5 separate regions of the Homo sapiens genome follow, and all the other regions are linked to region 1. The links are contacts of gene promoters, found by promoter capture Hi-C in blood cells and fetal thymus (Javierre and others, 2016). All regions are on one chromosome and are shown on one strand. The core of a region is centred on a gene start or on the middle of the fragment in contact, and the rest is flanking DNA. Distances in the headings are between cores, read along the strand shown. Region 1 holds the start of ZRANB2-AS1 (ZRANB2 antisense RNA 1). Region 2 overlaps ANKRD13C (ankyrin repeat domain 13C). Region 3 overlaps ANKRD13C (ankyrin repeat domain 13C). Region 4 overlaps ANKRD13C (ankyrin repeat domain 13C). Region 5 has its middle 84 kb from the start of CTH.

Evidence for each region. Contacts are between HindIII fragments. The CHiCAGO score rates a contact against its expected background, and 5 or more counts as called.
Region 2: a contact is called between a fragment that was not itself captured here and the fragment with the promoter of ZRANB2-AS1 in region 1, in 1 of 17 cell types (total CD8 T cells). The highest score is 7.2, in total CD8 T cells.
Region 3: a contact is called between a fragment that was not itself captured here and the fragment with the promoter of ZRANB2-AS1 in region 1, in 1 of 17 cell types (total CD8 T cells). The highest score is 5.8, in total CD8 T cells.
Region 4: a fragment that was not itself captured here is called in contact with the fragment with the promoter of ZRANB2-AS1 in region 1 in 1 of 17 cell types (total CD4 T cells); the score reaches 5.3 in total CD4 T cells.
Region 5: a fragment that was not itself captured here is called in contact with the fragment with the promoter of ZRANB2-AS1 in region 1 in 2 of 17 cell types (megakaryocytes and erythroblasts); the score reaches 8.3 in megakaryocytes.

The regions. Positions count from the first base shown.
Region 1 is chr1:71,042,989-71,049,139 of GRCh38, forward strand. ZRANB2-AS1 (ZRANB2 antisense RNA 1) reads left to right here and starts at 3,518. Exons shown (of 3, transcript NR_038420.1): 1 at 3,518-4,601; 2 at 5,826-6,000. It overlaps PTGER3 (prostaglandin E receptor 3), which reads right to left and starts at 4,828. Exons shown (of 4, transcript NM_198719.2): 1 at 3,693-4,828. The coding sequence starts at 4,589. RefSeq lists an enhancer at 4,242-4,825. The HindIII fragment of the contact is 6,286 bases long and covers 390-6,151 here.
Region 2 is chr1:70,279,274-70,285,424 of GRCh38, forward strand. All of the region lies in intron 9 of ANKRD13C (ankyrin repeat domain 13C), which reads right to left. Among named protein-coding and RNA genes, the nearest start is that of SRSF11, 61 kb to the left of the region's middle. The HindIII fragment of the contact is 3,300 bases long and covers 882-4,181 here.
Region 3 is chr1:70,296,896-70,303,046 of GRCh38, forward strand. It overlaps ANKRD13C (ankyrin repeat domain 13C), which reads right to left. Exons shown (of 13, transcript NM_030816.5): 7 at 3,869-4,013. Among named protein-coding and RNA genes, the nearest start is that of ANKRD13C, 55 kb to the right of the region's middle. The HindIII fragment of the contact is 177 bases long and covers 3,778-3,954 here.
Region 4 is chr1:70,341,246-70,347,396 of GRCh38, forward strand. The region is part of intron 1 of ANKRD13C (ankyrin repeat domain 13C); the gene reads right to left. Among named protein-coding and RNA genes, the nearest start is that of ANKRD13C, 10 kb to the right of the region's middle. The HindIII fragment of the contact is 983 bases long and covers 3,485-4,467 here.
Region 5 is chr1:70,492,659-70,498,809 of GRCh38, forward strand. No RefSeq gene overlaps it. Among named protein-coding and RNA genes, the nearest start is that of CTH, 84 kb to the left of the region's middle. The HindIII fragment of the contact is 6,948 bases long and covers 264-6,151 here.

The sequences.
Region 1 (6,151 bases), core at 2,268-4,767:
TGTTTTTGAGATAGCTTACAGTATTAGCCACATTCTACCTGTTTGGGAGTGCCAAGTTATAAAAGTACAAAATGTACTCATAGCTTCCTTTGAACAAAATCCTAAGGTTATTCCCATTTCTGGAAATTTAGCTATCAGGTCAAACAACTGAGCTATGGTGAGCATCATTCATAAAATATAAAACATAAAATAATGATAAAAATCAAATAGATTGCATTGCTGGATGAACTGGCTGATTGCAACAGAATGACAATGTGATGCCTTACATAAGCAGTAACTAAAAACTGTAGGTCATCTATCATGGTGACATAATTTCCCACTGTACTCTCTTAATTTCACATTTTATATTGTATTTTGCAAAATTTCTGAGAAAAAGAAAAAGGAAACAAAGCTTTTGTTTAAGGATACATAAACCTCTATTTAAGTATTTATGTAGTGTGAACTTGTAGCTGTTGGGACATTTTCTTATTATGGTGTTTCTGTACTACCAAGTTTTCCTGCAGTAACAACTGAATATTTATTATAGTCATGATAGTCTTCCAGGATATACTCAGGGTCCTTTCAAGTAAGAAGTTTGGACAATTAGAATAGTATCCTACACCCAACTTAACGAATGCTAGCAGGAAACCTATATTACACTCATAGTTAGAAAAAACAGCGTTAATCTCTCATTTTAACACTAATATGCTGAAAATTCAATTCACTAAATTCTAGTGTTTTTATTCTTATAATTCTCTATTAAGAAAGCAGCTTTGCCAGTTTCTTTTCTTTGTAGTAATTCCAACTTTGTACAGTAAATCTTTTTGAAGATATTTGGAGTTTTTTTTTTGTTTTTTGTTTTTTTTTTAGAGGGAGTCCTGCTCTGTCACCCGTGCTGGAGTGCAGTGGCGTGATCTCGGCTCACAGCAACCTCTGTCTCCCTAGCCTAAGTAATTCTCCTGCATCAGCCTCCCGAGTAACTGAGATTACAGGCGCATGCCACCATGCCCCGCTAATTTTTGTATTTTTAGTAGAGGCGGGGTTTGGCCATGTTGGAATGCTGGTCTCGAACTGCTGACCTCAAATGATCCACTCACCTCGGCCTCCCAAAGTGCTGGGATTACAGGCGTGAGCCACTGCGCCCAGCCGATGGAACCATTTTCTTTAAAAAGTTCTCATTTCTCCTAGGCCGGGCACGGTGGCTCATGCCTGTAATCCCAGCACTTTGGGTGGCCGAGGTGGGCGGATCACCTCAGGTCAGGAGTTCGAGACCAGCCTGGCCAACATGGTGAAACCCCATCTCTACTAAAAATACAAAAATTAGCCAGGTGTGGTGGCGGGCGCCTGTAATCCTAGTGACTCCAAAGGCTGAGGCAGTAGAATCACTTGCACCTGGGAGGTGGAGGCTGCAGAGAGCTGAGATCTCACCACTGCACTCCAGCCTGGAGTTTTTTTTTTTGAGACAGAGTCTCAAAAAAAAAAAAAATTCTCCTTTTTGATATGATCACATGTTTAATTTATTTTGTTTAATGTTTTTATAATTGAATTAATAAAGTACCCAGTAAAATGCTATAAATCAATAAGTATTATCCAAATGAAAATAAATTGAAATTAAGTAAGACTAGTTTCAAATGCAGTCTTTCTTGAAAGAGTGAGTTTGGCCATCCTAAATTACAGTTTTCAAGATTGATCTACTTTCTTTCTGAGGCCACCATACTTTTGGTACTAGAATTAAAGTGTCTAAATCAAAAACACACTACATGGCTTCGCTTTGACTTAAAAACAAAATGCACAAACAATAAATTATAAGTCTGATTAACTGTATGGGTATTTTGTTCAATTGATTTAACTGCATTTTTTTTCCCTAGGATATAAATCATGTGATACAGCAAACTCAAAGATGTGGGACTCAAATGACACTTGTGAAAAACTGATACCCTGTTTGCCTTTAAAGTTATATTAATTACCACACTTTAGTAAAGTGTTTACTATTTAGAACTCTTTCTTCCTTCCTAGTTGGCCACCTGTACACTCCATTCCTCAGCCATAAAAGTAAATACTGTATATCTAAAACTGGTGCTGGTTTTGATAAGCCATAGTGATGACATCAGCCTGAGTTCCAACTCCTGGAATAAAGAACTGTGACCATACAGCGACTTGTGGGCAGTTAGGTCTCAGCATAACACTCCTTGTCCCCTCATGTCACTGATTTGGAGCCAAGGTTTGTGCTCCAATCTACCAAACCAGGTTAAAGAAATTACATTTCTATTTTCAAATGCAAGGGATTTAAAAGTATACATGGCGCACAAAAAACTCAACGTACTTAATGCCTAATGCCACTGAACTGTACACATAATAATGGTTAAAATACTGAATTGTATGTAATATATTTTACCATAATTAGGAAAGAAAAAAAACTGCGTTCACGTGTTTCAAAGGTTTTCCACAACTGTATAATACATATAGTTGGTTATACCTTTGTAACAGTGACCATATCGCTCTTTCTGCAACATCTATTAACCCAGACACCCCAGGGCCTAAGTAAGCATCCATTCTTCAGGAATTAGTAAACAGCACTTACACACGGACATTTCTAGCTAAAAGTAACACAGACAAAAAAACCTCAAAAATATCACGTAAGGGCAGGTGTTAGGCAAAGAGCCTCTGCAAACATCCCTTGCTCCTCTGCATTGCTCTGGTGTGAGGAGCTAGGACATGGAGAAACCTCTACCTCCTATCTCAGGATTAGCGAACCCTGCTTGAGTGCTACAAGGGTAAGTAAATGCTGGCCTGAAGAAGCTGCTGAGCTTCCGGATCCCACTGACTGTCGTTCGGGCACTTCCTAGAGGGTCAAGCACCATGGCGAAAGGCTGAGGAGGCAACTCGTATCTTTCATTCTCCTGCCTCATCAAGAATGAACCTTGAAGGCACCCATAGGTCGCGCAGTCTTTCAGAAGCTGCAGGAGGGCTGTGACTGTATGGGGTTGCAGACTGAAAATCTTATTAACGTGAAAGAGGAATTTGAAATTAAAAAAAAAAAACCCGGCCGGGCGCGGTGGCTCACGCTTGTAATCCCAGCACTTTGGGAGGCCGAGGCGGGTGGATCACGAGGTCAGGAGATCGAGACCACGGTGAAACCCCGTCTCTACTAAAAATAAAAAAAAAAAATTAGCCGGGCGTGGTGGCGGGCGCCTGTAGTCCCAGCTACTCGGAGAGGCTGAGGCAGGAGAATGGCGTGAACCCGGGAGGCGGAGCTTGCAGTGAGCCGAGGCTGCGCCACTGTACTCCAGCCTGGGTGACAGAGCGAGACTCCGTCTCAAAAAAAAAAAAAAAAAAAAACCCCACAATATCAGGCTACAGTTATCATAGCAATTCTGCTTTTAATGCACTCAGGACAAACTTCTAGCTCTGCATATATGTCATTTCAATGACACATCCTGTCTCCTACCCGACTAGAATGTGAGCAGCCCTGTGATCTCTATGTGCTCATAAACAGTGCCTAATGCGAATCCTGGCTCTTGGAAGGCGCTCAGCTAGTAAGTGAGGAGCTCAGCTCTGAAGCTGTAACCAAGACCGCGCGGGCAGGAGGAAAGGACACTTCAGCGCTCTGCGGTTGCAAACACACCCCTGCGGGTGCTGCCACTTAGCAAAGTCTTAGGTTCCCGCTTACTCGCACACGCATCCTGACTTCCCCCAACCCTGGAACTACCTACCAGGAGCGGAGACCAGCAGACCGACAGCACGCACATGATCCCCATAAGCTGAATGGCCGTCTCGGTCGTGATGCGGCCCCACTGGGCACTGGACTGAGATGCCGTGGCCTTGGCCCGGCAGCGGGACACCAGGGCCTTAATGGTGGCCAGGTTGCAGGAAAAGGTGACTGTCAGCGCCAAGAGCCCCAGGAAGGCAAAGGCAGAGGCGAAGAAAAGGTTGCCCCAGTTATGCGAAGAGCTAGTCCCGTTGCCCCCTCGCCCGGTGCTGATGAAGCACCACGTCCCGGGCCACTGGACGGTGTACTGGCCCACGCCCAGCACCGGCAGCAGGGCGAAGGCGAGCACGGCCAGCCACACGCCGAGCAGCACAGCGCGGGTGGCACGCGTCTTCATGTGGCTCGCATACCAGTGCGGCGCCCTGATGGCCAGCGCCCGCTCGACGGCCATGGCGCTGGCGATGAACAACGAGGAGAGCCCGAAAACAGTCATGGTCAGCCCGAAAAAGGTGCAGAGCCGCCCCGACGGGTCGATGTGCTCCCAACGCTGCTTGGACAGGTACACGACGATGACGACCGGGGTGGTGAGAAGCTGCCCGACCAGGTCGGTGAGCGCCAGCCAGCCGATGCACAGCAGGAAGGACTTCTTGCGCTTGCTCTCCCGGCGCCGGTAGCTGCGCGACACGAGCAGCATGGCCAGTGCGTTGCCCACGAAACCAGTGAGCAGCATGGTGATCGGGAAGGCCACGGACACCGATCCGCAATCCTCGCCAGACCCTGGAGGGCGCGTGAGGTTGCCCCGCGCCTCGGCGGAACGCTCGGGCGCCCACATGCCTGTGTAGGAGTGGTTGAGGCGGGTGCAGAAGGGGGCATCCCCTCCGTAGCCCCGGGTCTCCTTCATGTTGGCTTCGAGGTGAGGAGGGGATGGCGTCCAGAGAGCCGCAGCGGGAGGGGGCAGACGCGGCGCGGGCGGCGGCGGAGGTCGGCGTTTACCGCGGCTGGGGCTGGGCTGCCCCCCATGGTGCGGGGCGCAGCCGCCGCCCTACTCCGCTGCTGGGACCGCGGCCGCGGCGGCGCCAGGGCTCACTGGCCCGGGAGGGAGCCACGCCTTCCTCTCTGGGAAACCTCTGGTGGCGAGGCGCGCGGAGGTGCCGAGTCCCCTTTATAAGGCCGAGGGGGCGGGGCGCCCGTGGGTGTGGACAGAACCGAGGTGGGAGGAGGGTGCAAAGCAACTGAGCGCCTCTCTTGGCTGTTGCCTATCCTGATCGCCTGGGTTGGGAAGCCCCAGACGGTCTCCTCTGAAACGCCCTGCTCCTGGCCGGACCGGGAGCCCACTGGGGTCTCCTCCAGTTCTCCGCTAAAGTGTCGGTGGACGGCAAGCAGCTAATAAGTAGCACTGGACTTGCGGACCCCAGGCAAACTGCCGAGGCGCACCTGAGCGCTCGTCCTCCTGCTTCTTCAACCACAAACGCTCCTACAGGGACGGGATCCTTCTCCTGAAGTCCTTTAGTAACTCTGGTAAAGTGAAAATCGCCTGTCCTTAAGCAATCCACACAAGCCTTTGCATAGCTGATCGTTAACTTTTTTCCTTTCTGCTTTGTGACTCTAGAGTGATTATAAAAAGGCCAAGGTGTCCTGTCCCCTGGGGTGCCGCTGAAAACTATAAAATTACTAGACAGTGCCTGTAGACTTAAGGGAATAGACACAGGGAAACAAATACATCGGATGGTTGAATTCCAAGACCAAGAAATCCCAACTACTACCCCTCGCCTAATCCTGCCCGCTCCCCTCCCCACCACCCAACAAAAAGGTCAGCTATGGCAAAAGTGGCTACAGGAAGGTGGCATCAATTTGCATATCTGAGGTAGTGAAATCAACTGCTCCCAGCCTATGGGAGTGAGAGGGGAGCAGAAGAGAAAGGTATTCCTTACAAAGCCTCCAACCATCCTTCTTATCTTCATACAATAAGAACTAGAAAAGGTATTCAGATGTTATGAAGGCCTTAATCTATATGGAAACTTTGCCTTTGAAATAATAAACATTGAATGAAAATAGGCATACTTGCTTGCCTCGTAACATCTTTCAGTAAGCCAATATTTTATGTACTTCTCACAAGCATTTTCTCATTTTATCACAGAAATCCTCCAAGGTACTATTGCTATTATTATTTCCCTTAAAGGTGGGGTAACTGAGGCCCCATGAAGTTAAAGAATGTTCCTGAAGTCTCTCAGCAATTCTCAAGTCCCATCTTATTTGAAGCATGTATTCCTGACATGGGTCCCATAACTGCTCTCAGCAGATGAATATTAACGGTGAGATCATCTTCCCCTAATCTTGGGAAAGTCTTGTGTTTTTTGCTTTTTGCCTTTTTACACTGTCTAAGAGATGAAAAGATTTTTAAAAATAATTGCAAAGTTCATTTTTCCTCATATTTAAGAAATTAGACTTAATCATATAGCACTC
Region 2 (6,151 bases), core at 1,282-3,781, 760 kb before region 1:
CCGTTTTCTGCCGAACTACAGAGTATAAATTTTGCTTCACTGGAGATAACTCTATACTCTTACTAGCCCAGTGACAGCACCAGAGGAATTTGCAAACAAACCTTACTCCTTTCCTGTCCTTGGAAACCTAAAATCACTTTCATTTGTCCTGTCATTTCTCTATAAATTTATTGTTCTTTGTTGAAGATGCTATATAAGTAGAGTTCTAAGCCACTATTTTGAGCTACTTTTTTTTTTTTTTTTTTTTTTTGAGACATAGTCTTGCTCTGTTACCCAGGCTGGAGTGCAGTGGCACAATCTCGGTTCACTGCAACCTCCGCCTCCCAGGTTCAAGCAATATTTCTGCCTCAGCCTCCTGAGTTGGGATTACAGGTGTGCATCATCAAGCCCAGCTAATTTTTGTATTTTTAATAGAGATGGGGTTTCACCATGTTGGCTGGGCTGGTCTCAAACTCCTGGCCTCAAGTGATCTGCCCAACTCAGCCTCCCAAAGTGCTGGGATTACAGGCATAAGCCACTGTGATCAGCCCTTGAGTTACTTTTCCTTGGGGTTTCTTGTGTGGTGTGCGGCACGCATTAATAAACTTGTTTGCTTTTCCCTTATAAATCTGTCTTTTGGTACGAGAGTCCATCTCAACTAAGAACTAAGTTTGGAAGAGGTAAAGTTTAGTTTCCCTTATGGTATAATGGAGGCCAAAAGAAAAGACTGTTTCAATATCACACTACAGAGACTTTGAAGAGAAAGAAGCCTGAAAAAGCCATAAATTTTGTTGGTTAGAAGTCATTGATGATCTCTGAGTAGCAGCCGAGGGATGTGGAAAGAAAGGAAACAGAGTTTTTTAGTATCAGGCAAGATGAAAGACAATGTTCTTTCCTTGAGAAGCTTATCAAGAGACACAAAAAGTAAATACTTATAATTGAGGGTGACAGGGGCTATGATATAATTGAGGGTGACAGGGGCTACAGAATGATATAAACATGCACAGAAGAGGTTTATGACAGACTAGGGTAGCCAAAAGACGTGGACTGGTTGACTCCTGAATTGAGGAGTCTAAAAAAGAACAAAAGAACTGGTTGAAGGAACTGGGGAAAGCAGAATGGTGAGAGAAAGCATGACATACTGGGAAATTGCAAGTGTAGTGTGTCTAGTTGTATGAGTAGTATACATGAAGATTAGTAGTAAGAGAAAAGTGGCCAGACACAGAAGAGAAAAAGTAGCCTGAAAGGGTTTTACATATGAAGTAGATCACATTTTACTCAGGAAGCAATGGACAAATATTTTGAGCAATACAATATAGTAGCTAAAACACCAACTGTGGAGCCAGAGTGATCCAATTCTGGCTTCGACAATGACTAGCTGACTTCAAACAAATTACTCAACCTCTTTTGCCTCAGTTCTGTCAACTATATAACCTCAGAGGGTTTACTGTGATGATAAAAATGGGCTGTTAAATGTAAAGTGCTTAAAATAGTGCCTCACGCATAGCAAGTACTGTATACATTTTAGTTACTGAGCATAGCCATTACATGATTCAATCTATTTCAGGGTGATTACTCTGGTGGCAGTGTATTTAGGAAGCTATCTCAGTAATCCAAATGAGAAATGATAAGGGCATGTTGTTTAAAAATGGAAGGACAGAAAATAGACTAAATAGACTCAAGAGATCCTTAGGATTTTGTGATTGATCAGATATAGAGATAACAGGAAAGCTAAGAAGTCTAAGAAGAAATTTCAGGTTGCCAGCTGGGGTAAATAAGGAGATAATGGTGTTACTACCTAAGACAGAGAAAAGAGGAAGGAGGGAAGAAAGCATTATCTGATTTAGACACACTAAATTTTAGACATCTATGTTTATCCAAGTAGAGGTAGGCAAAAGCACTATAGATGTGGTGATATGACGGAAGAATAGAGTTAAAGGTATATATCTGGTTGACAGTTACCAGTGTTTATGTACTCACTGATGAGATGTCAGAGATTGCTAGTTGTCTCCCCAGTATCTGTTCTCCCATTAGTCTTTGTGAAAGAACCTCTCTTCCAAATTTTTGGATGAGCACATGACTTCCTAGAATAGACTCCTTTTCTAGAAATCCTTGCAGCTAGGTGTTATCATGTGACTAAATTCTTTTTTTTTTTTTTTTTTTTTTTTGAGACAGGGTCTTGCTCTGTCACCTACACTGGAGTGCAGTAACTCAATCACACCAAACTGCAGCCATGACCTCCTGGACTCAAGTGATCCTCCCACCCCAGCCTCCTGAGGAGCTGGGACTACAGATGCATGCCACCATGTTCAGCTTGTTTTTACTTTTTTTTTGTAGAGACAGAGTCTCACTATGTTGCCCAGGCTGGTCTTGAACTCCTGAGCTCAAGCAATCCTCCCACCTTGGCCTCCCAAAGTGCTGGGATTACAGGCATGAGTCACCATGCCCGGGTTAAATTCTAACCAATGGAATGTGAGCAGAGTGATGTGTACAACTTCAGAATGGGCTCTCAAACAGAATAGGAATGCCTTCTCCTTTCTAATTAGCACTTTGGGAGGCCAAGGCGGGCAGATCACCTGAGGTCAGGAGTTCGACACCAGCCTGGCCAACATGGTGAAACCCCGTCTCTACTAACTACTCAAGAGGCTGAGGCAGGAGAATCGCTTGAACCCAGGAGGCAGAGGTTGCAGTGAGCTGAGGTCATGCCACTGCACTCCAGTATGGGCAACAGAGGGAGACTCCATCTCAAAAAAAAGAATTACTATTCCTGCTGGCTGGAATATGAAACTGGTACATATCATCTTTTTTTTTTTTTTTTTTGAGATGGAGTCTCGCTCTGTCACCCAGGCTGGAGTGTAGTAGCGCGATCTCGGCTCACTGCAAGCTCTGCCTCCCAGGTTCATGCCATTCTCCTGCCTCAGCCTCCTGACTAGCTGGGACTACAGGTGTCCACCACCACGCCCGGCTAATTTTTTGTATTTTTTAGTAGGGACGGGGTTTCACCATGTTAGCCAGGCTGGTCTCGATCTCCTGACCTCGTGATTTGCCCGCCTCAGCCTCCCAAAGTGCTGGGATTACAGACATGAGACACCGCGCCCGGCAATATAAATCATCTTATACCATGTGGATGCAAGGCCACATCCTAGGAATGGCAGAGAAGACAAAAGAAAAAAAGTTGTCTGGGATTAACCCACAGAGCAGAGAAAAACCACACAAACTCAGATTTTTACATGAGAGAAAAATAATCTTTTATCTTGTTTAAGTCACTGTTCTTTTGAGATTTCTTATAAGCAGCCAAACTTACATCATAACCAATACCAAATTCCAAATTTACAGTGGGAGATTATACATAATACTATGACATGTAGCAATGGCTTATCAGTAGAATGACGAAGAGGCTTAAAAGCTAGTTAATGACCCTCACAAATGCTGTGGCAAAACATTAGGTAAAATAGTATCTAGTGATATGCTAGAAAGCAGAGAGACATGCGTTTAATAGAACCTTTAATTTTAGGGGAAACCGCTGGAAACGTTTAAGATTGCTGCTCCAACCTAGAACCACAGCAAAGACTAATCCCATACCCACTGAAATCTCTATCTATTAATATTTTAAATATTATATATAACATTTTCATGGTAAAGACACATTTGTCATATGATTAGATAACATGGCATGTCACATCATTATATTTTTTCAGGTAATAACTTTTCCAAGTAAGTTTCTACCATTTCCAAATAAATTCTTTCTAAACAGTACATTATACATTCCCCATCTTAGTAAAGACTGTAATCAATGTAATTTAACCTTTTATTGAGCACTTTATCTCATCATTATAAATATCAATTATCATATTCTAAAAATGTCTTTCTAGTTTAAGTTTAAATTAGTCCTTTATTTTTTTCAAGGAATCCCAAATAGATTCAAAGTCCTTTATTATATACTGACACTTCTTGCTGAATCCTTCAGTGCCTCCTCTATACTGATGCCATGGCTATCTAATGAAACAGGAAGACATAAAGGTTGGTGCAATACCAGATAACTCTTTAAGTTATTTTGCCAAATCAATTGGCTCTGTAATTGAAATGCCTTCAAGCCTTTCCCTCATAATTAAATGTAAAACTTCTGATGACTATTTTCCTTGAAGCATATAGGAAATACTTTATTTCTAGGTTTGTTATTATTCTAATATTTTATATGGCAAAGCTTTCTGAAAGTTTAAGATATTCATGTATTTTATTATGTATTCCTCTTTAGATTTTTAAATAAAGAAAAAAAAATCCATGCCGGGTGCGGTGGCTCACACCTGTAATCCCAGCACTTTAGGAGGTCGAGGCGGGTGGATCCTGAGGTCAGGAGTTCGAGACCAGCCTGACCAACATGATGAAACCCCGTCTCTACTAAAAATACAAAAATTAGCCGGGTGTGGTGCCCGTAATCCCAGCTACTCAGGAGGCTGAGGCAGGAGAATTGCTTGGAGCCGGGAGACGGAGGTTGCAGTGAGCTGAGATCACGCCATTGCACTCCAGCCTGGGCAACAGAGCAAGAGCGAGACTCCATCTCAAAAAAGAAAAAAAAAATCCATAATCATGAATAGGGCTTAACTCAATATTCTGAACATATAGTTGGCACAGTATAAGTGCTTTTATCAATGACTCTAAGGTATAAACGGAGCATTGTTCCCTACTCCAATGATAACTGGTTACAACAAGGAGCTAAAAATACAAGAACAAGTACCCATGATTTAAGAATTTCTGAGCACTTAAATTTTGCTATCAAAAATTCTGTCAAAAATATATACTAAATACTAGAACCACATCTGGGAAGGAAGAGAAAAAAAAGCAGAAGAGGCACAGTAAAAGTAATCAAATGGCAAATAATTCCTTCTGAATACTACCTATAAGCCATTTCTTGCAGAAATTGAAATAAAATTTTGGCTGGGGATGGGGGACAAGAAGAAACCCAAAAGCTATTTATTTATAATAAAGCATATAAATTCATTCCAAAAAGGAATAGACATTTATTTTTAAGAATGGAAATTCTATTAAAACATGGCTTTAAAATATATAATTTTAATGTATTTTGAAAAAAATAAGAAATCATATATATTTTCTAGATTTTTGAAACTTTAATAATTCTCCAAAATCAAAAATATATTTTTTACTATTATGTGCTCTACTAGTTTTTACTACATTTACCAATAACATATTCCCAGGATTATTTCTTAAGGTTTTCCCCACTCTTTCCTGACTTCAACTTCCCAGTATTTTGAAAGAATTGCTAAGACGTGTTAATACCTGAATATACAGAAAGAAGAAACTATAACAAAGACAGACTAAGAAGCAAAGAACTTACAGCAAGAACAGGCTTGCAGTCAGGTTCCTAACATAAAAGTCCATCTCTGCTTCTCTATCTTCGTAACTCAGACAAATTAACTTACTTAAACCTCAATTTCTTTTTTATAAAATGGGCAATGGCACTCACCTCTTTAGGTCATTACAATAACTAAACCAGATAATATATGGAAAGTACTTAGTACAAGGCCCATGCTAACAACTTCAATGTTTTAAGCCAATATCAATAAGAAAGAAAACTTTGTTGAGGTGTATATGAATTCAGTTTTCATTCCTGTTGTTTTCTTTTTTTAGCCAGCTACGAAAGACATCCAATAAATGTCATTTTTAACCTGCAGAAGCTGAAATTGAGCTTATGGCACTCAACTCAGAATAGGCCACTGGAGAATCCTTCATTACTCTCTGATAAAATATAATGCTTTCCACACAACTGTCATTAATTAAATACATCTGAGTTACTAACCTACAATTCACTGTGACTTGAAAATTAATATAGCACATGTCTATTTCTACACTTGATTTGTTCTTATATTGTCAGCTGTGACCTTGAAAGCATCAATTTTCAATACTGATTTATAATGTCTTTTTTTTTTTTTTTTTTTTTTTGAGATGGAGTCTCACTCTGTTGCCCAGGCTGGAGTGCAGTAGCATGATCTCGGCTCACTGCCACCTCTGCCCCCTGGGTTCAAGCAATTCTCCTGCCTCAGCCTCCTGAGTAGCTGGGATTACAGGCACGCACTACCATGCCCACGAATTTTATTTGTATATTTAGTTGATATGGGGTTTCACCACGTTGGCCAGGCTGGTCTCGAATTCCTGA
Region 3 (6,151 bases), core at 2,616-5,115, 750 kb before region 1:
AGTCATGCTTCAGGTTTTATCCTGTACATATTCCCTAGTGCTGGTATATAATAATTGAGCAATAATTATTTTTTATATGAGAAAAAAGGAAAGTTTTGTGCTTGCTTCAGGGACAGAAGACTAAATGATCAAGTACAGAAGAGTAAGTGAGCAGGTATAAGATGAGATTCTATTCCATAATAGGCCAAGAAAGATACCCTAACTAATATTTAAGACGTTATAAGGAAGAAAAAAGGCAAAACCTAGGGAGTTGTCTGGAGAATAATAACAGTCCCTAGGGTTTACAATAGTTAGAGCCTTCATTCTCCAAACCTCCTTATTTCTAGGTTCCCAAGAGGCCCATTTTCTATTCTTCACCATCTAACTTTAACCTACATAGAGTCCCTTTCTGATTTTTTTTTTTTTTTTTTTTTTTTGAGACAGAGTCCCGCTTTGTCGCCCAGGCTGGAGTGCAGTGGCACAATCTCAGCTCACTGCAAGCTCCTCCTCCCGGGTTCACACCATTCTCCTGCCTCAGCCTCCTGAGTAGCTGGGACTACAGGCACCCGCCCCCATGCCCGGCTAATTTTTTTATTTTTAGTAGAGACGGGGTTTCACCATGTTAGCCAGGATGGTCTCGATCTCCTGACCTCGTGATCCGCCCGCCTCGGCCTCCCAAAGCGCTGGGATTACAGGCATGAGCCACCGTGCCCAGCCCATATAGTCCCTTCCTGAATTTCCAAAAACAATACCATTGGCGACCGGGCTAGGTGGCTCATGCCTGTAATCCCAGCACTTTGGGAGGCCAAGGCAGGTGGATCACGAGGTCAGAAGACAGAAACCATTCTGGCTAACATGGTGAAACCCCGTCTCTACTAAAAAAAAAAAATTAGCCGGGCATGGTGGCACGCGCCTGTAGTCCCAGCTACTCGGGAGGCTAAGGCAGGAGAATCACTTGAACCCGGGAGGTGGAGGTTGCGGTGAGCTGAGATCAATCACGCCACTGCACTCCAGCCTGGAGACAGAGAGAGACTCCATCTCAAAAAAAAAAAAAAACAAAGAACAAACAAACAAAAAAATAGCAATGGCTTGGGCCTGGGACAGTACCATTTCCTCTACCCCTACAAGTAAAGAATGCAAAATCTTGGTGTTACTGCTAAAGCCATAATAGGTGAAAATGTATTCCTGGTAACCCAAATTAATTCTGAACACAATATTCTTTAAAAAAAAGTTAGGTTGCAGTAGTTAAACAGAACTGTTAAACACTATACTTCAAATATATTATGAATCAAGTAGAATTTTATATATTAGCTTGGAAACTGAACACTGTATAACCCATTGTCTATGAGCAAATTTGCCTTACATTTCAAACATCCTATTTTCAATAAACTTTTGGAACAGAATTCTTATATAAATCAGAGACTATCTCTTAACCACATCACTGAAAAAGATCTGCTGTTTTAATTAATTACATTGCTTCAACATTTAATGAAGTTATTACTTATACATACATACATATTAGGATAAACAACAAGTATTCTCTGCCCTAAGGAATACTGCTCAAAATTTATCTTTCCTGTATTGTAGGCATTATAAAATACATAATACATATATGTATGTATACATACATACCTTAATACTAGTACATACATACCTTAATACCTTAAAACTGGTACCCTTAATACCAGTTCTTTGGTAATACTATGACATCCACAAATACTTATGGACTACTAGCCTTAACTTCTAGCTTCTCTTTCAAGACCCTATTTCCAATTCACTTATTGCCTAGTTGGCTATCCTGTTGTCATTTCATAAGTAAGAGGTCAAATTATTTAATAAATATCTGAGAGGCTCACATATGAGTAAGCAAACTATAATCAGCTGCCTGTTTTTATGAATAAAATGATAATGGAATATACTCATTTATTTACATATTGTCTGTGGCTGCTTTTAACAACAGCAGAGTTGAGTAGTTGTGACAGAGGCCATATGGCCCACAAATATATTTTAATATCTAAAAATATTTATTATCTCTTCCTTCACAGAAAGAGTTTACCAACCTATAGCGTAGAATGTACTGATGCTGTATTAGATAACAGGGAATACAACAAAAAGAACCCCACGCCCTTGAGGAGCTTAGACCAATAGAAGGGAAAAAAGCCATGTCAGTAAATGTAACATTAGAAGCTTTATGGTTCCAGATTTAATAGGAACATAAGGACAACAAAAGTCATTTGGTGGGAGAGAAAGTAACACCAAGTGCATGCCCTACAGGTGTGAGGGTGCAAAAAGAAAAGCATTCCAGGAAGTGGAAAGAACATGAACAAAGGAATAAAGGCCCAAATAGCCTGGCACATCTGACAAACTGCCAAGAGTGCAGTATGAGGGTATCTAAAATAGTAAGGTAAGAAAAAGGCTAGAAAGGTGAGCAAAACTCAGGTGACAAAAGGAACCATGCCGTGCTAAGGAGATTAGATTTCACTCTTTAGGTAATGGGGAACTTTTTAAGTATCTCTAAGTAACTAAGGTTTCATAAATGTGTTTCTAAAGTTTAATGTATCTCCAACATGTGGGATAATTTAGAAGCAGATGAGAAGGGAGCCAGGAAGATCATTTATAAGACTTTCCAATGGTCCAGTTGAGAAATAATGAATGTTTAAATTACAGTAGTGACAGTGTGAATAAAAGAGGAATAATAATGAGACATTAAGGAGAAAGAAATGACCAGATATGTGCTCTGATGAGAAAACACAGAGTACAAGAAAAGATATCAAAAATAACTCCTAGGTTTCTAACTGAATAGAGAATGACATCATTCTTCAAAAGAGGAAAAACAGGAAAAAGAGCAGGTTTGGAGGAAAAGTAGCAAGGTTAGTTTTAAATAAGGTGAATTTTGAGGTACCTGGGAGACACACATGATATCCATTAGGCATTTAAACAGATAAGCCTCTACTCAGAACTGTATGGACACAAACATATATTTGTAAATCATCAACCTATAGGACTGTGGGAATGGAAGGGATTATTCTGGCAGTTTGTAAAAATGAGAACCACATCAAGGGCATATCAATGGTTTTTTAACACAAAGATATGGCATGAGAGAAGGAAAATCATGTCGTACTTGAAGAGGGAAAGGACAGAGAAAGGAAAGGTAGCCAAAGAGTTAGGAAAAGTAAGACTGCAGACAGAGCCAAAAGAAGTATTCATATTAAGGAGATAAAATAAAGATGGTCAACAACATTAAAAGAAGGTAAGATAAAAAGATAATACATGGTAAAGGTCCAGCACAGGTTCAACAAATGAAAACTATAAATGAGAATGAAGAGAAGTTGGAGTTCATTGATCTAGGAGATAATCAGTTGAATTCTCAGCAGGCTCAATGGACCGGTCAAGATGGAGACCAGAGGATAGAAATATAAAAAATGAAAATAGGCCAGGCGCAGTGGCTCACGCCTGTAATCCCAGCTCTTTGGGAGGCCGAGGTGGGTGCATCATTTGAGGTCAGGAGTTTGAGACCAACCTAGCCAACATGGTGAAACCAAGCCTCTACTAAAAATACAAAAATTAGCCGGGCTTGGTGGCGGGCGCCTGTAGTCTCAGCTACCCTGAAGGCTGAGGCTGAAGAATTGCTTGAACCTGGGAGGCGGAGGTTGCAGTGAGCCTAGATCACGCCACTGCATTTCAGCCTGGGTGACAGAGCGAGACTCCAGTCTCAAAAAAAAGAAAAAGAAAAAAGAAAAGAAAGCTAGTGGTCAGGAAACTATAGCTTTAGGAACAAACCATCTCAATTATACCTTAAGCTTTTAAGCAAATTATACTGAGGTTTTGCTAAAAACCTATACTTTTTTTTTAATGATTTAAAGGAATATTGATAAGACAACATGCTCACCTCATGATGTATTCGCTGATAAACTTTTTGTTCATTGTCTAATACTACAAAAGATTCAGAGGGCGCCGCATCCCCATTGAAAATGAAGCTTAGATCCCCTCGTTGGCACTTCATGTCAGTAAAGTCTATGAGAGTTGTGTCAAGCCTGTGAAACATGGGTAGATGATAAACTCTGACAAATATAATTTTGATAAAACTTCACTAATAATTAAATAAGCTGTTCCTTTTAAACTCAAACCAAGATGCTAATACCATATTGCAAAGTCAAATTTATAGATAAAAACAAATTTATAGATAAAAACTAAATTTAAAATATTCTATTAAAAAACAAAACTACTTAAAGATATAATCCATTTTAGCTATATTTCACTTTTCTGAATATACATATATATTTTCTGAATATATATACACACACATATATATATATATATACACATACACACACACATATATATATACACACACATATTTCATTGACCCAGAAAAAAAGATGTTTCCCCATATTTGGGGTATTTCCCTTTCTGCTCCCTTGTTTCCTACCATTTCCCTTACTGTAGCTACTCAATAAAAGTGAACGGGGAAGGAAGAAAAGGAACACAGACCTGTCTGACATTATTCGATCCCTTTAAGACCAGGTTGCTAGCTCAGCAGAGTATTTAAGACCAGACAGCAATGGATGGACCACATTCTTGGAATTGAGAACTCCTCTTCTGATATACACCCGTAACCTTATGCCTAACCATCTGATACCAAACCTTGCTTTATCCTTCAACTTGATAAACCATTTAAATTCTTGGCCTTTGTATTTGACTTCTCAGATTTGGACTAATACTCTCTTTCCCAACCAATATCTCCACACCCTGGAAACCTTACAGATCATTCTGTATCTAATACTCATGGATTCACACATTTGTGTGTTTACTGTTCTCTTTGGTAACCTGGACCTGTCATGGTCTAGCCTAATGCGCTGGTCTCAAACAGTATTCCACAAAGCACTACTTGCCGAAATTAGGAAAAATACTGAAAATAAAAAGTTTACAATACACTGACGTGCTTCAGTCTTGCACATGGCTTTATAAATCACCAGATCAGGATCACCCCAGCTAATGGCTGCTCAAAACACACAGTCCTAAAGCCAAGAAACTGGTTGGCCCTGCTGTCAAAGGATGCTGATCACATCCCCAGGAAGCTCCTTTAAGGCTCCGTGAAAAATCCACCCTGGCTACTGAATTTCTAATGCAACTGTAAGAATTCATTACTCTGTAGGTTTTTCAGTTCTCATCACAGACAAGGCAAAGTGAGTTGGTATTCTTGGTTTCCCTAGACAGGAAAAACAGAAATAAAACATGCCTCACATGCTGCATGAAAATAATAACTAGGGTTACATAGAATTTATCATCAAAATTAATAAATCTAAGAATGAAAGTGACACTACTGACAATTCTGCCAGGAAAACAGGGGTGAGCCAGAGCAAAGAGGGAAGTATGGTTGCCTTATGTATCAAGAAGCCCTAAAAAAGTAACTCATCAACTCACACAGGGGCGGCGGGGGGGCGGGGGGCTGCCTGTTGCTTTATAGCTGAATTCTAGCTTTTAGTCCACTCCCAGAAGCTAGAATTCAGCTTTACTATTAAATAACACCTATCATTGCTTGAGCATGTGTCCTAAAAGAAAATAGTATTGGCCGGGCGCGGTGGCTCACGCCTGTAATCCCAGCACTTTGGGAGGCCAAGGCGGGCGGATCACGAGGTCAGGAGATCGAGACCATCCCGGCTAAAACGGTGAAACCCCGTCTCTACTAAAAATACAAAAAATTAGCCGGGCGTAGTGGCGGGCGCCTGTAGTCCCAGCTACTTGGGAGGCTGAGGCGGGAGAATGGCGTGAACCCGGGAGGCGGAGCTTGCAGTGAGCCGAGATCCCGCCACTGCACTCCAGCCTGGGCGACAGAGCGAGACTCCGTCTCAAAAAAAAAAAAAAAAAAAAAAAAAAAAAAGAAAATAGTATTAAAAGGGACTCTTCCCCTATCTCTATAAGATGTGGGCTCCTGATAATACCAAAAAGGAACAGATCATTTTATATGTAAGTGCACTATTTGGGCTCCAAGCTTCAGCTATCAGGGAATGTTATGCTCTACATAAAAGAAGAAATGGGCTAAAACAGTCTTCTGCCTCCATTCCCTGCTTGCCCATCATAGGTGAAAGTGGTAGTGGGTTGCCAGGAGTGGAGATGAAAAGGTGAGTAAAGAGATGCACAGAAAGACAGATAAAGAAAGACAAAGACAGAC
Region 4 (6,151 bases), core at 2,726-5,225, 700 kb before region 1:
AGTTGGGTGTTTTTATCCTACAGTAAGACAATATTTGTCTTTTTAACTGAAGCATTTAATCCAGTTTCACATATACTTACTGATATATCAGGGTCCAAATCTACCATCTTTTTGTGTGTTTTTTTTTTTTTTTTTTTGAGAAGTTTCATTCTGTCACCCAGGCTGGAGTGGAATAGTACAATCTCGGCTCACTGCACCCTCCGCCTCCCAGGTTCAAGCGATTCTCCTGCCTCAGCCTCCCAAGTAGCTGGGATTACAGGCATGTGCCACCACACCAGCTAATTTTTGTATTTTAGTAGAGACAGGGTTTCACCATGTTGGCCAGGCTGGTCTTGAACTCCGGACCTCAAGTGATCTGCCTGCCTCAGCCTCCCAAAGTGATGGGATTACAAGCATGAGCCACTGCCAGCCCAGCCCCTTTTTGTGTTTTCTATTTGTTCTGCCTGTTCTATATCCCTTTTGCTTGTCTTTCTTACCTTCTTCTAGATTGACTATTTTTATTATTCCATTTTGTTTTTTAATCTATCTGGAAGGTATACATATTTTATTTTACTGTAGCAGGAAAGTGGCATGATACAAATTACATTTTAAAATCATTCTTGTCCTCATATAGAGAATGGATTGGAGGGGGACATAGGGAGACCAGTTATGAGTCTGGTGCAATATTCCCAGGAAAAAAATATAATTAAAATTGGTCAGTCTCAATGTGGTGGCAGAGACAGAAGTAGACTGGTTCAAAATAACTTGCTAATTACATGTGTATGGGGAGTAAGAAGTGGTGAAACAAAGAATGATCTCAGTGACTGGCTTGAGCAACTAGATAGTTAAGGATGTAATTTAAAAGAATGGGCGGCCAGGTGAAAGGGGAGGAGGCAGAAAATGATAACTCCATTTTGGACAAGTTAATTTTAAAATAACTCTGAGATTCCAAGTGAAGACAAATACAAAATCTAGACCTCAAAGGAGAAGTATAGGCTGGAGATATACATTTGGCAGTAAAAAAGAAGAGACAGGCCTGGAGCAGTGGCTCATGCATGTAATCCCAGCACTTTAGGAGGCAGAAGTGGGCAGATCATGAGGTCAGGAGTTCGAGATCAGCCTGACCAACATGTTGAAACCCCATTTCTACTAAAAATACAAAAATTAGCCGGGCATGGTGGCGCATGCCTATAATCCCAGCTACTCAGGAGGCTGAGGCAGGAGAATCGCTTGAACCCGGGAGGCAGAAGTTGCAGTGAGCTGAGATCGCCCATTGCACTCCAGCCTGGGTGACAGAGCGAGACTCCAACTCGGTGGAGGGGGGAATAAAAAAAAGAAGAGACGTTTACAATCAAATGTATAAATTCCTGAATATCCCTTTTTGTATCAATAGTGGAAGAGGTAGCAATAGTGGAAGAGGTAGCAATAGTTCCCTTTCTTCACTTCTCTATCTTTCAGGGAGAAAAAGAAGTACCATGCTCCAAATGGTAAAGAAAGAAACACACACACACAATAACACACACACACACACACACACACACACACACAAAATAACACTTGCTGCTGCCCAGGAGGGGAACTAGATAGGTAGAGATGGGTGAAAGGGAAACTTTTAACAATGTATCCTTTTATTTTTAAGAATTCTAAAGCATGTGAATGTTATATCTATTCAACAAATTTTTAAATTTAAGTTAAGGAGAGTCCACCAGAGTCTAGACAGATAACCTAGGTGAAGAAGTCAAGGTGGCCGTGCTCCTGGATAATTATCCTTTGTTTTCTTAACCCCTCAAGAACATAGAGAAAAGAGGGGGTAAAAGCATCAGTACCTACTGAAGTTACAAATGAAACCTTCCATTACAAGTCCAAATTTTAATCATATTATCACAAGATTTATGAACTAGAAGTCAGTTCAACAATTCAATCCCTCTTTTTAAAGATAAGAATATAAACAGAAATACCTTCTACTATGATGCCAAATATTATGCTCTGCTAATTCAATATTTTAAATGGCAAAATCATCATCACGATCACCTGGCTAACAGTGAATTTACTGTATTCACCAACTATATCATAAAACTAAGTGCTCCAACATCCTAGTTACTTCCATCTACTATCTCCTCAGTTTTCTATGTCCTCAACCTGCTGCTTAAGCTAATTTATTACACAAAGGATAATAAAAACATAAAATAAACTTTGCTATCAACTTTTCATAATGTACTTTTTAAATCTGAAATTGAACACCTTCATTCTAACTTGGTAAACTAAATCGAATTGTTTTGTCGAACAAGTGAAAAACATCCAGTAATATTAAGACCACTTTAGCTTTTAGGTAGGTTTGTTTGTTTGTGACAAAGTCTCTCTATTGCCCAGGGTGGAGTGCAGTGATGCCATCTCGGCTCACTGCAGCCTCTACCTCCTGTGCCTCAGCCTCCTGACTAGCTGGGATTATAGGCGTGCACCACCATGCCCGACTAATTTTTGTATTTTTAGTAGGGATGGAGTTTAGCAAAACTATGTTGGCCAGGCAGGTCTCAAATTCCTAGCCTCAAGTGATCCGCCCACCTCAGCCTCCCAAAGTGCTGGGATTACAGGCATGAGCCACCGCACCAGGCTAACTTTAGTTTTAAAATATGCAAAAAACACTGGCCGGTACAGTGGCTGCAGCCTGTATTCCCAGCAGTTTGGAACACTGAGGCGGGAGGATTGCTTGAGCCCAAGGAATTCAACACCAGTCCATGCAACATGGGGAGATCTTGTCTCTACAAACAATAATTTTTAAAAATTAGCTGGGGGCTGGGCATGGTGGCTCACGCCTATAATTCCAGCACTTTCAGAGGCCGAGGCGGATAGATCACCTGAGGTCAGGAGTTCAAGACCAGCCTGACAAACAAGGTGAAACCCCATCTCTACTAAAAATACAAAAATCAGCCAGGTGTGGTGGCAGGCGCCTGTAGTCCCAGCTATTCAGGAGGCTGAGACACGAGAATTGCTTAAACCGGGAGGTGGAGGTTGCAGTGAGCCGAGATCATGCCACTGCACTCAGCCTGGGCAACAGAGCAAGATTCCATCTCAAAAAAAAAAAAAAAAAATTAGCTGGGCATGGTAGTGTGGTATGCCTGTGGTCCCATCTACTCAGGAGGGTGAGGTGGGAGGATTGCCTGAGTGTCGGAGGTCAAGGCTGCAGAGTCGTGGTCACACTATTGCACTCCAGCCAGGATGACAAAGCGAGACCCTATCTCAAAAAAAAAAATGAATAAATGCAAATAATCAATAGAATGGCTGGCATTTAATGGGTATCTATTAAATGTGTTGGGCACTATGCTGTATATTTCTGATACCTTATTCATTTAATTTGCTCAATAATCCTATGAAACAAATATTATTCCTATTTCTCAAGAAGAAAAATAGACCTAATAATAGTTATTTTCCAAAATTACATACCTAGAAACTGGGACAGTTCATGACACAAAAATTTATATTCTTTTTACTGTATTAACAGTTTTCAAGCTTTTGAATCTCAGGACTCCTTTTATACTTCTAAAAATTATTAAGGATCACAAAACCTTTTGTATAGATATATCTATTGATATTTATCATATTAGAAATTAAGATTTTTAAAATTTTAAATGTATTAATTTTAGAACTATAATACTCACTACGTGTTAATATAAAATTTCTTATGAAAAAATTAACTACATTTTCCAAAACAAATAAGTGACATGAGCAGTCTATTTAAATTATTTAATTAAAAATAAAAATAAATTATGTTTCTTTAATGTCTGGCTTAACAGAAGACAGCAGCTAGGTTTTTATATATGCTTTGCACAAATTCACAGTTGATAAGAGTGGGAGTATTTTAATAACCTTTTCTGATATTTTTCTTTGCTACACACCAAAATTCACTTCTTAAAAGTTGGTTGCACAGCTGGGCGCGGTGGCTCACTCCTGTAATCCCAATACTTTGGGAGGACGAGGCAAGCAGATCACCTGAGGTAGGGAGTTTGAGACCAGCCTGACCAATATGGAGAAACCCCGTCTCTACTAAAAATACAAAATTAGCCGGGCGTGGTGGTACATGCCTGAAATCCCAGCTACTCGGGAGGCTGAAGCAGGAGAATCGCTTGAACCCAGGAGGCAGAGGTTGCGGTGAGCCGAAATCGCACCATTGCACTCCAGCCTGAGCAAGAAGAGCAATATTCCGTCTCAAAAAAAAAAAAAGATTGCAATGTGAAATCTAAAATCATATAAATAAGTTTTTTGTACTGTATTACACTGAAATATATTGGTCTGTCTTGTGCTTTGAATGGATCTTGTACTGATGCATGATTCTGTAACACCATGCATTGATATTTGAAAAACACCGGTTGACCAGGTTATGGAAATCTTCAAATGTTGACATATTTCACTGTACAATAGCAAAAAAACCGTATTTGGCAATATCACCTCCAATCTGACTAGAACAGTCTTTTATGTACTGGGAACCCATCAAGCTTACCATGGTAGAGATAAGTTCTTCAAATTTCTACTTTTCATTTGAAAGCTTCAATTTTTTCATTCACAACAAATAACTGTCACTTGTTTTCCTTGAAGTCATAGGTTTACTTCATTATTTTCCAAAAAATATTTGCCATATATTCAAACTGTGATTAACTATAGTTTGTCTGTAAACTGTTCTTTAAAGTAAAAATGGTGTTCCATGAAAAAGGTGGCTAGCTCAGCTTACACTCAAATACCCCTCAAACTTTTTTCTAATACTTTTTTTTTCTATTTTTCTTTTCTTTCTTTTTAATAGAGACAGGGTCTCACTATGTTGACCAGGGTGGTCTCGAACTCCTGACCTCAAGTGATCCTCCCATCTCGTCCTCCCAAAGTGCTGGGATTACAGGTGTGAGCCACTGTGCCTGGCTTCCCCACTCAGTTTAACAATGCTTTCCCTTATTTACCCAGTCAGTATGCAGCAGAGGAGCAAAAGGCACAATCCCAATTATGTCACAAATACCAAAAAAGCATGTACTCAAGATTAGGATGTAATAAAATTCATAATTTTTACAGTTTCATCAAAAACATTAAGTAAAATGGCCTTGTTTTAATTTTTAAAAATTAAAAATTAATTTGCATGGCAGTGAACAATACAATGACTACCAGCCCAGTTTGCTACTTTGACTTGCACTAAGATGTCAACAATTTTACTCACCAGTGCTTTTGAACCACCAATGAAAATGTCTGCAGTGAAAAAGGCAAGCAATGACTAGATATTATAAAAATAGTTGCGACTTTGTGCACCCCCTAACTATAGAACAAAGCAGGAAATTGCAAGTACTAGTACAGAGCTCCAGGTTCTACAGACTCCTTCAAGTCTGATCCAAGCAAGCAGTAAAAGGGGATAATTTCTGCATTCTCTCTCAAAAATGCTAATATACTACTAAAATACACACACCATATCATCTGACATCAAATCCAGCATCAACTTCTATCAGCTCTATCTTCTTATCACCCTCACAGTTTCCCCCAACTATAGTAGCTTTTTATACTGACCCTTGCCTCACACAACAGCCCGAGTGAGCCTTTTAAAATCAAATTGTGTCGGGCGGGCGCGGTGGCTCACGCCTGTAATCCCAGCATTTTGGGAGGTCCAGGCGGGTGGATCACGAGGTCAGGAGATCGAGACCATCCTGGCTAACATGGTGAAACCCCGTCTCTACTAAAAAATACAAAAAACTAGCCGGGCGTGGTGGCGGGCGCCTGTAGTCCCAGCTACTCGGGAGGCTGAGGCAGGAGAATGGTGTGAACCGGGGAGGCGGAGCTTGCAGTGAGCCGAGATCGCGCCACTGCACTCCAGCCTTGGTGACAGAGCGAGGCTCCGTCTCAAAAAAAAAAAAAAAAAAAAAAAAAAGGCAGTTCATAGAGAAGCATGGTCTCAAACTCAGATCTGATCAATACAGAAAAGGCGAAAGACCTTTTCCCTTTTTCCTATCCCTATTTTACATACTTCAGTGTTGCTCTAAAACTGATCACCCAGCTCTCCCTCAAGAAAATAAATGGTGTAGGAACAGAACCATATTGTTTGTCTGCCTGGCCCCCATCCAATTCTCTAGGAACTGCACTCATTTTCTGGAACCCAAGCATTCTGATAATTACACTGTACTCTTGAATTAAAGTAGATTTCTATGAC
Region 5 (6,151 bases), core at 2,488-4,987, 550 kb before region 1:
TTAGAATGTCTTTACTATCCAAAGCGATCTACAGATTCAAGACAATCCCTATCAAAGTACCAATGACATTCTCACAAAAATAGAAAAAGAGATTGGTTCATGTGACACCATTTAACAAATAGTAGCGTAAATTGTCAATTTAAAATTTGAGATGTGAGAACTGCAAAAGGGAGAAAATTATTTTCTAACCTATAAATGAAATAGAAATGCTACATTTTACCATGGCATGTCACTAGCACAATTTTCAGTTATTACTACACATAAGCTTTATCAAAAAGTTTCTCATATTAAATTAACAAATATTTTTTGGTACCTTGGTATAAGGCAGGCACACCAACTTAATTCTGCCAAACATTTAATCCATTTGCCTTCGTCTGCTCAAGTTGTGTGTGTTTGTGTGTTGTTAAAAAGTGATCTCATTTTAGTTAACTGGATAGAGATTTTATTTCAAAATGCTTATCGTGAGAATTCCGCATTTGAAATACATATATTTTTCTATTAAGTTAAATGAGCAATCAACTTCCAGACTGAAGTTATTTTTATACATAATAAGTAGTTAGCAATATGACTTGATTTCTAAAGCCTTGAAAAAGCTGCCTTTTCCTAAACACCTCCCATGTCAAATGCTACCTGAAAGAACCAATATTACAACCTCTTAATTCCTTCCTCCTTCACTTCCCCACCCCTTCTTTCTCCCTTCTCCTTTCTTTTTCCTCCCACTGTCTCTCCCTCTTCCCTTGTATTCCACTTTTTCTTTTATAAATATTTACTGAATGCCTTTTATAATCCGGCAACGTAAGAGTTGGGGAGCTCTTTGTATTGTAATAAAGTACATACAGTTCTCTTTCCTAAGAAGCCCAGTGCCTAGTCAGGCAAAAAGATGTCTAACAACTTGTAAGAAAGATTGCATTGCCATAATGAAGGTGTGAATAAAGTATTGTAGGGAGCCAGAGAAAGTTTCATAGAAAGGAGACTATTTGAACTAAATCTTGATTAATAATTAAGCATTAAGGGTGAAAAAGACATTAAGTATTGCCCTCTCAACATGCAAATACTTCTGAGATTTCAAAATTTCAGAAAACATTATTATTATTATTATTATTTTTTAGTAGAGACAGAGTCTTGTTTTGTTGACCAGACCGGTCCCAAACTCCTGGGCTCAAGTGGTCCTCCTGCCTTGACCTCTCCCAATGCTGAGATTATAGGCATGAGCCACTGTGCCCAGCCAGAAAACATTTATTATGCACATAATTATCTAAGGTACTATGTCAGAAAATGGGGCATTAAGAAAAAAATAAGACTTGGTTCTTTTCCTTGAGGATCATAGTTTCCTAGGAGGAAAGAGGTTTCTAAAATATGTATTCTTAGGCTGGGTGCGGTGGCTCACGCCTGTAATCCCAGCACTTTGGGAGGCCGAGAAGGGTGGATCACGAGGTCAGGATATCAAGACCATTCTGCCCAACATGGTGAAACCCTGTCTCTACCACAAAATACAAAAATTAGCCAGGTGTGGCAGCATGCATCTGTAGTCCCAGCTACTCGCGAGGCTGAGGCAGGAGAATTGCTTGAACCCGGGAGGCGCAGGCTGCAGTGAGTCGAGATTGTGCCACTGCACTCCAGCCTGGGCGACAGTGTGAGACTAAGTCTCAAAAAAAAAAAAAAAAAAGGTATTCTTAGTATATTGCAAGGACAGACACTTTGCTTTTATGGGAGTAGGGGTAGAGGCAGGAAGGTTAGGGGTAGGGTTTCAAACAAAATTAGTTCACGGGAATTGAGCCTATAAGATGACAAATGTTACAGAGAGAAAAACTACCAAGTGTTATTCATGCTGAGATGGGTGTTTCTGGGTCCTGGGAATCTCCTCTCACTCAGTTTGCCTCTAATTCTGTACCTGACAATTCTCACACTGCTGAGACTCCACTGGAGCAGGGCAGAACCAGCCACTTACAGATGAGTTAGATGTAAGATACCTCCAGAGACTCCAGACTACGTACAGGTGCCTTCAGAGAGCTGGGAGCTCCTTCTATAGGAGCCAAGCTGACGCAAGACTAGCAACTTTGGTAAAAAGAGCTAGTCATTACCCTCTTAATGTGAATTCATTTATGTATTGATTTGCTCCATGTCCTGGGCATCAAAATCCAGGCATTTAGAAAAAGAAGGATCTCTAAAAAGGGGTGAGCAGTGAGAGAAGACTGTAGAAAGAAGGAAGGAATAATAGAGAAACTTCACCCACTTCTTTGATAAGTAGGACCAGACTCCATGAGCCATTGATTACTTCTTGTGTCAGACTGGCACATATCAAGGAATTGAGTTTAGGGCCCAGCTGTGACCCCTGCAGGAAAATTTTTATTTGTACTTGGAAAATTATTTGTTTTTTATGTTTATTTGCTTTTAAGTACAGTTGTCCCTTGATATATGCAGGGGATTTGTTCCAGGCCCCCATCCATACCAAAATCCTTGCATACTCAAGCCCCACAGTGGGTCCTGCAGAACCTGAGTATATACAAACAGTTGGCCCTCCATATAGGTAGCTTTTGCATTTCTTTAATACTGGATTTTCAATCTAAGTTTGGTTGAAAAATCTCAGTATAAGTGGACATACACAGTCCAAATCTGTGTTGTTGAAGAGTCAACTGTTTAATGAAATTGATATGGTATAACTTTAGGGACTTTGATTCTCAACTACTCTAATGATACAAACTAGGTAATTTAACTCTGTGCACCTGCATTCAAGCTAATTCTTGGCTCTAAACTGTGGAATATAGGAGCACATGTTCTCAGGATCTCCCGAGGGCTGTGTCACAGAAATTTATATATATATAAAACAAGAAAGCTGGCACCTGAGTACGATAATTAAATTGGCAGAGATATTGAAATATGATCCCTGGAGGTTATTGATTATATGGCTCCCAGTAGTCTAATCTTTGGAGTTAAATCAACACATCCTGGTTTTAATGTAGGCCATGAATTGGAGCCTGCTTCTGCTTCATGACACTTAGAACAATGATTCTAAATATCTTTCAAGTTCACAAAGCTAGAATTTTTGAATTTTTTAATGCTAGATTTCTGTGGCATACTTAATGGAATTAATTTACCTCCATTCACAAATGATTGCTCTCTTTTGATTTGCTCTAATCTTGCATTGCTGTTTGATTAGAATGCTCATTTCCCTTATCTGGCTCACTTATATATGCAAGAGGCAAATTACTTCATGTTTCAATAAATAAATAATTATATTTTGGTCTCAGTTTGGGGTTAAGTTGTGTCTGTGTTACTCTTTTGTAAGCTGGATATTTCCTTATACCATTTTTATGGCCTATTTAGCTCAGAGTTTTGGCTCATAGATATTGCTGTAATATAGAGCTCTTCAGTTGTAGTGAAAGTGAAGTTTACACATTAAATAAAATAAGAAACTTTAAGATTTGTGCTACTTTGGCATGTAAAGTCTCACTTATAAACACATTATCTCATTTGTCAGGTGTTCATTGGCCAAATCAAATGTTTTCATTTGGGGCACTTGAAAGGATAGTATAATGCAGTTTCCCACCTCAAAATATTTTTTTATGTAATAAAGGAGATAAGAAAGTTAGCAAAATGAACGTGCTATAAAGGATGGTAAATGAGTCACAAGAATTCATAGGAGAGCAATTTCACTCTTGGGTAGTATCAGGCAGGTGGCTAGGCCCCTGCCACAGTTGGAGACCTTGAGCACCTTTCCCCATGGCTGGCCTTTACTCACACCAAGGGCTAGATGCCTTTGTACAGGGCACAACCTGCACAACTGTACCCTATAGTCTTGGCTTTGGGTAAGTATGACTTTATGTAAACAGCAGTTTTGAGCTGAGCAAAAGGGCTATAAAAACTATCCCTCCTTTTAGTAATCCAGATGGTGTGTTTATGATACGAAAGAGTAACACTTCAAGCATAGAAAAGACATTATTTACATTTTAGAAAATTAAAAATACTTTTGATAAAAGAACATTTTTAAGTAAGAGAAAATTAATGTGTTATTTTGTAAAAAGATGATAAGAGATCAAATTGCAGAGGTAGGATTAGTTCCATCTGATTCACAGAAACAACACTGCAATCAAATTCCCATTCGATAGCCACCACTGCTGCCAAAGCAAAGAGAAAACTTTTTCAGCTACCACTATATGAAAGGCTTTGAGAGATGTTCAGATTAAAGTAGTATATATTTGAGGACTCAAATATTAGTTAGGAATCTTTCAGATAACAGTTCTGAAATTGTAATTAAATTTGATTAGCACAGAGGAATTTGTCCTAATGAAAATGAAGTGTCTAGTGGGACCCATGGATAGAAATGCAGGTGCTACTCTGGAATAAATAGAAGGGACTTAAATATCCCAAAGTTATATCATCATCTCTCATCTCTGCTCACCTCTGTATATTTATTTTGTTCTCTTTTTGTTTCTAGTTCTCTGATCTAAAGACAAAAAAAAAATCCCCCTTTTCCTCTCCAACATCTCCTAAAATTTACTTATTACTGTGTCTGCCACTGGAGAGAAATTGGCTTTTATTCTCAGCTCCAGTTTCACAAATTACATGAAAAGGTCTGCTTGGTTCAGCAGGAGTCCGGCGTCTATCTCTGTGTAAGTAATTATAACCTAAGGGACAGTCATAGCATGTTAATGCAGTGATGTGGTGACAATGTGTAACAGTTGGCTCTTGGGGTGAGGAGAGAGGAGGTGCACCAATTTGCTAATTTGAGGTGTAAATATTCTCACGATGGCTGATTTCAAGAGACCAGTATGATATCACTGAATGTGGAGTTGGAAGAGGTGCTAACAATCAACTTTTGTAAGATAATATGAGGCAGCTCTGATAATGGCTGCTCCTGTAGTAACCATGTGGATGAGAGATCATTTCTTATGAAAGCAGGATACTTTGGGCAAAGAAATCAATGTGTCTAGCACAGCCTACGTGGTATAATAAATACTATAATTTCCCCTTCATGTGTTTTTACTCATTTTTAAAACTTAAGGTAATAGCATAATATATGACACAATATTGTTTTAGCTTACTGAATAGACATGTTAACTCTAAAGTTACTTTGAGATTTAATGCCACATGTGAAAATTGTGAGTTCGATATTTCCTGTTGAATTAAATTGATAAATTAACTCATGAGACTTGAATTATATGTGAAATAAGATGGAGAAAAATGTGTGTGTGTGTGTTTTTTTAATTACAGGAGTGATTGGAGTGGCACATAACATGGCAGAGCTGTTTCCCAAGAGAAAAATATCAGAACGAGTTCAAGACAGATGATGTTTCTCAGGCTGTTTGTTACAGGCTACAGGAAAGGACGTGTGTGGGAAACTCGGCTTTGGAAAGGCAAGTGAAGTATGAGGGGCAGAACTAGTGAGTTGGCTAAAGACTATATGGCATATAAAATTATCCATCTAACAACTCAATTTTTAATAAAATTAGAAACTTTCATACAGTACAAAAATTACACAGTTTACTAGTGTGATTGGATTACTTGTGGGGGAAAAAAACTAAATCTGCTGACTTATACTGGGCCATACATGGGCCACAGTCATTGATGCATGGTGTCTGAGTACAAGCTGGGTTATGAGCAGGTAAAGACCGCAGGGAATGCTGACTTGAGAAAGGGCGTGTGTGTGTGTGTGTGTGTGTGCATGTGTGTGTGTGTGATTAGTAGAACTCCTGCTATGCAATGTTTCCCATATGAATATTTTAGTAAAATTTATATTATTCACCAATGCTTCATGAAATTGAAGTTTTAAAAAAACATGAGAAAGTCAATGAAATGCTATATCCTACTTTTAGCTCAGAATGAAGTGAAATCAGAGAGTTTATAGAAAGATAGCCATATTTGTGTAACATATAGAAAATCCTTATTTTCTTAGGAATTAAATTAAAAGCAAATGTTAACAAACTAAAGATAAACATGAACATTTCTGTTGATATAAATATTATTTTAACTATTATTTAAACACTAATTTTGTATTTGGAAATAATCATAGATTTATGAGAAGTTGCAAAATAGTCATCTCCTGTACACTTCACTCAGCTGCTGTAGTGCTATGGTTTTAGTGTTTTTGTCTTCTCCAAAATTCATGTTGAAACTTAATACCAAATGCAATAGTATTAAGAAGTATGGCCTT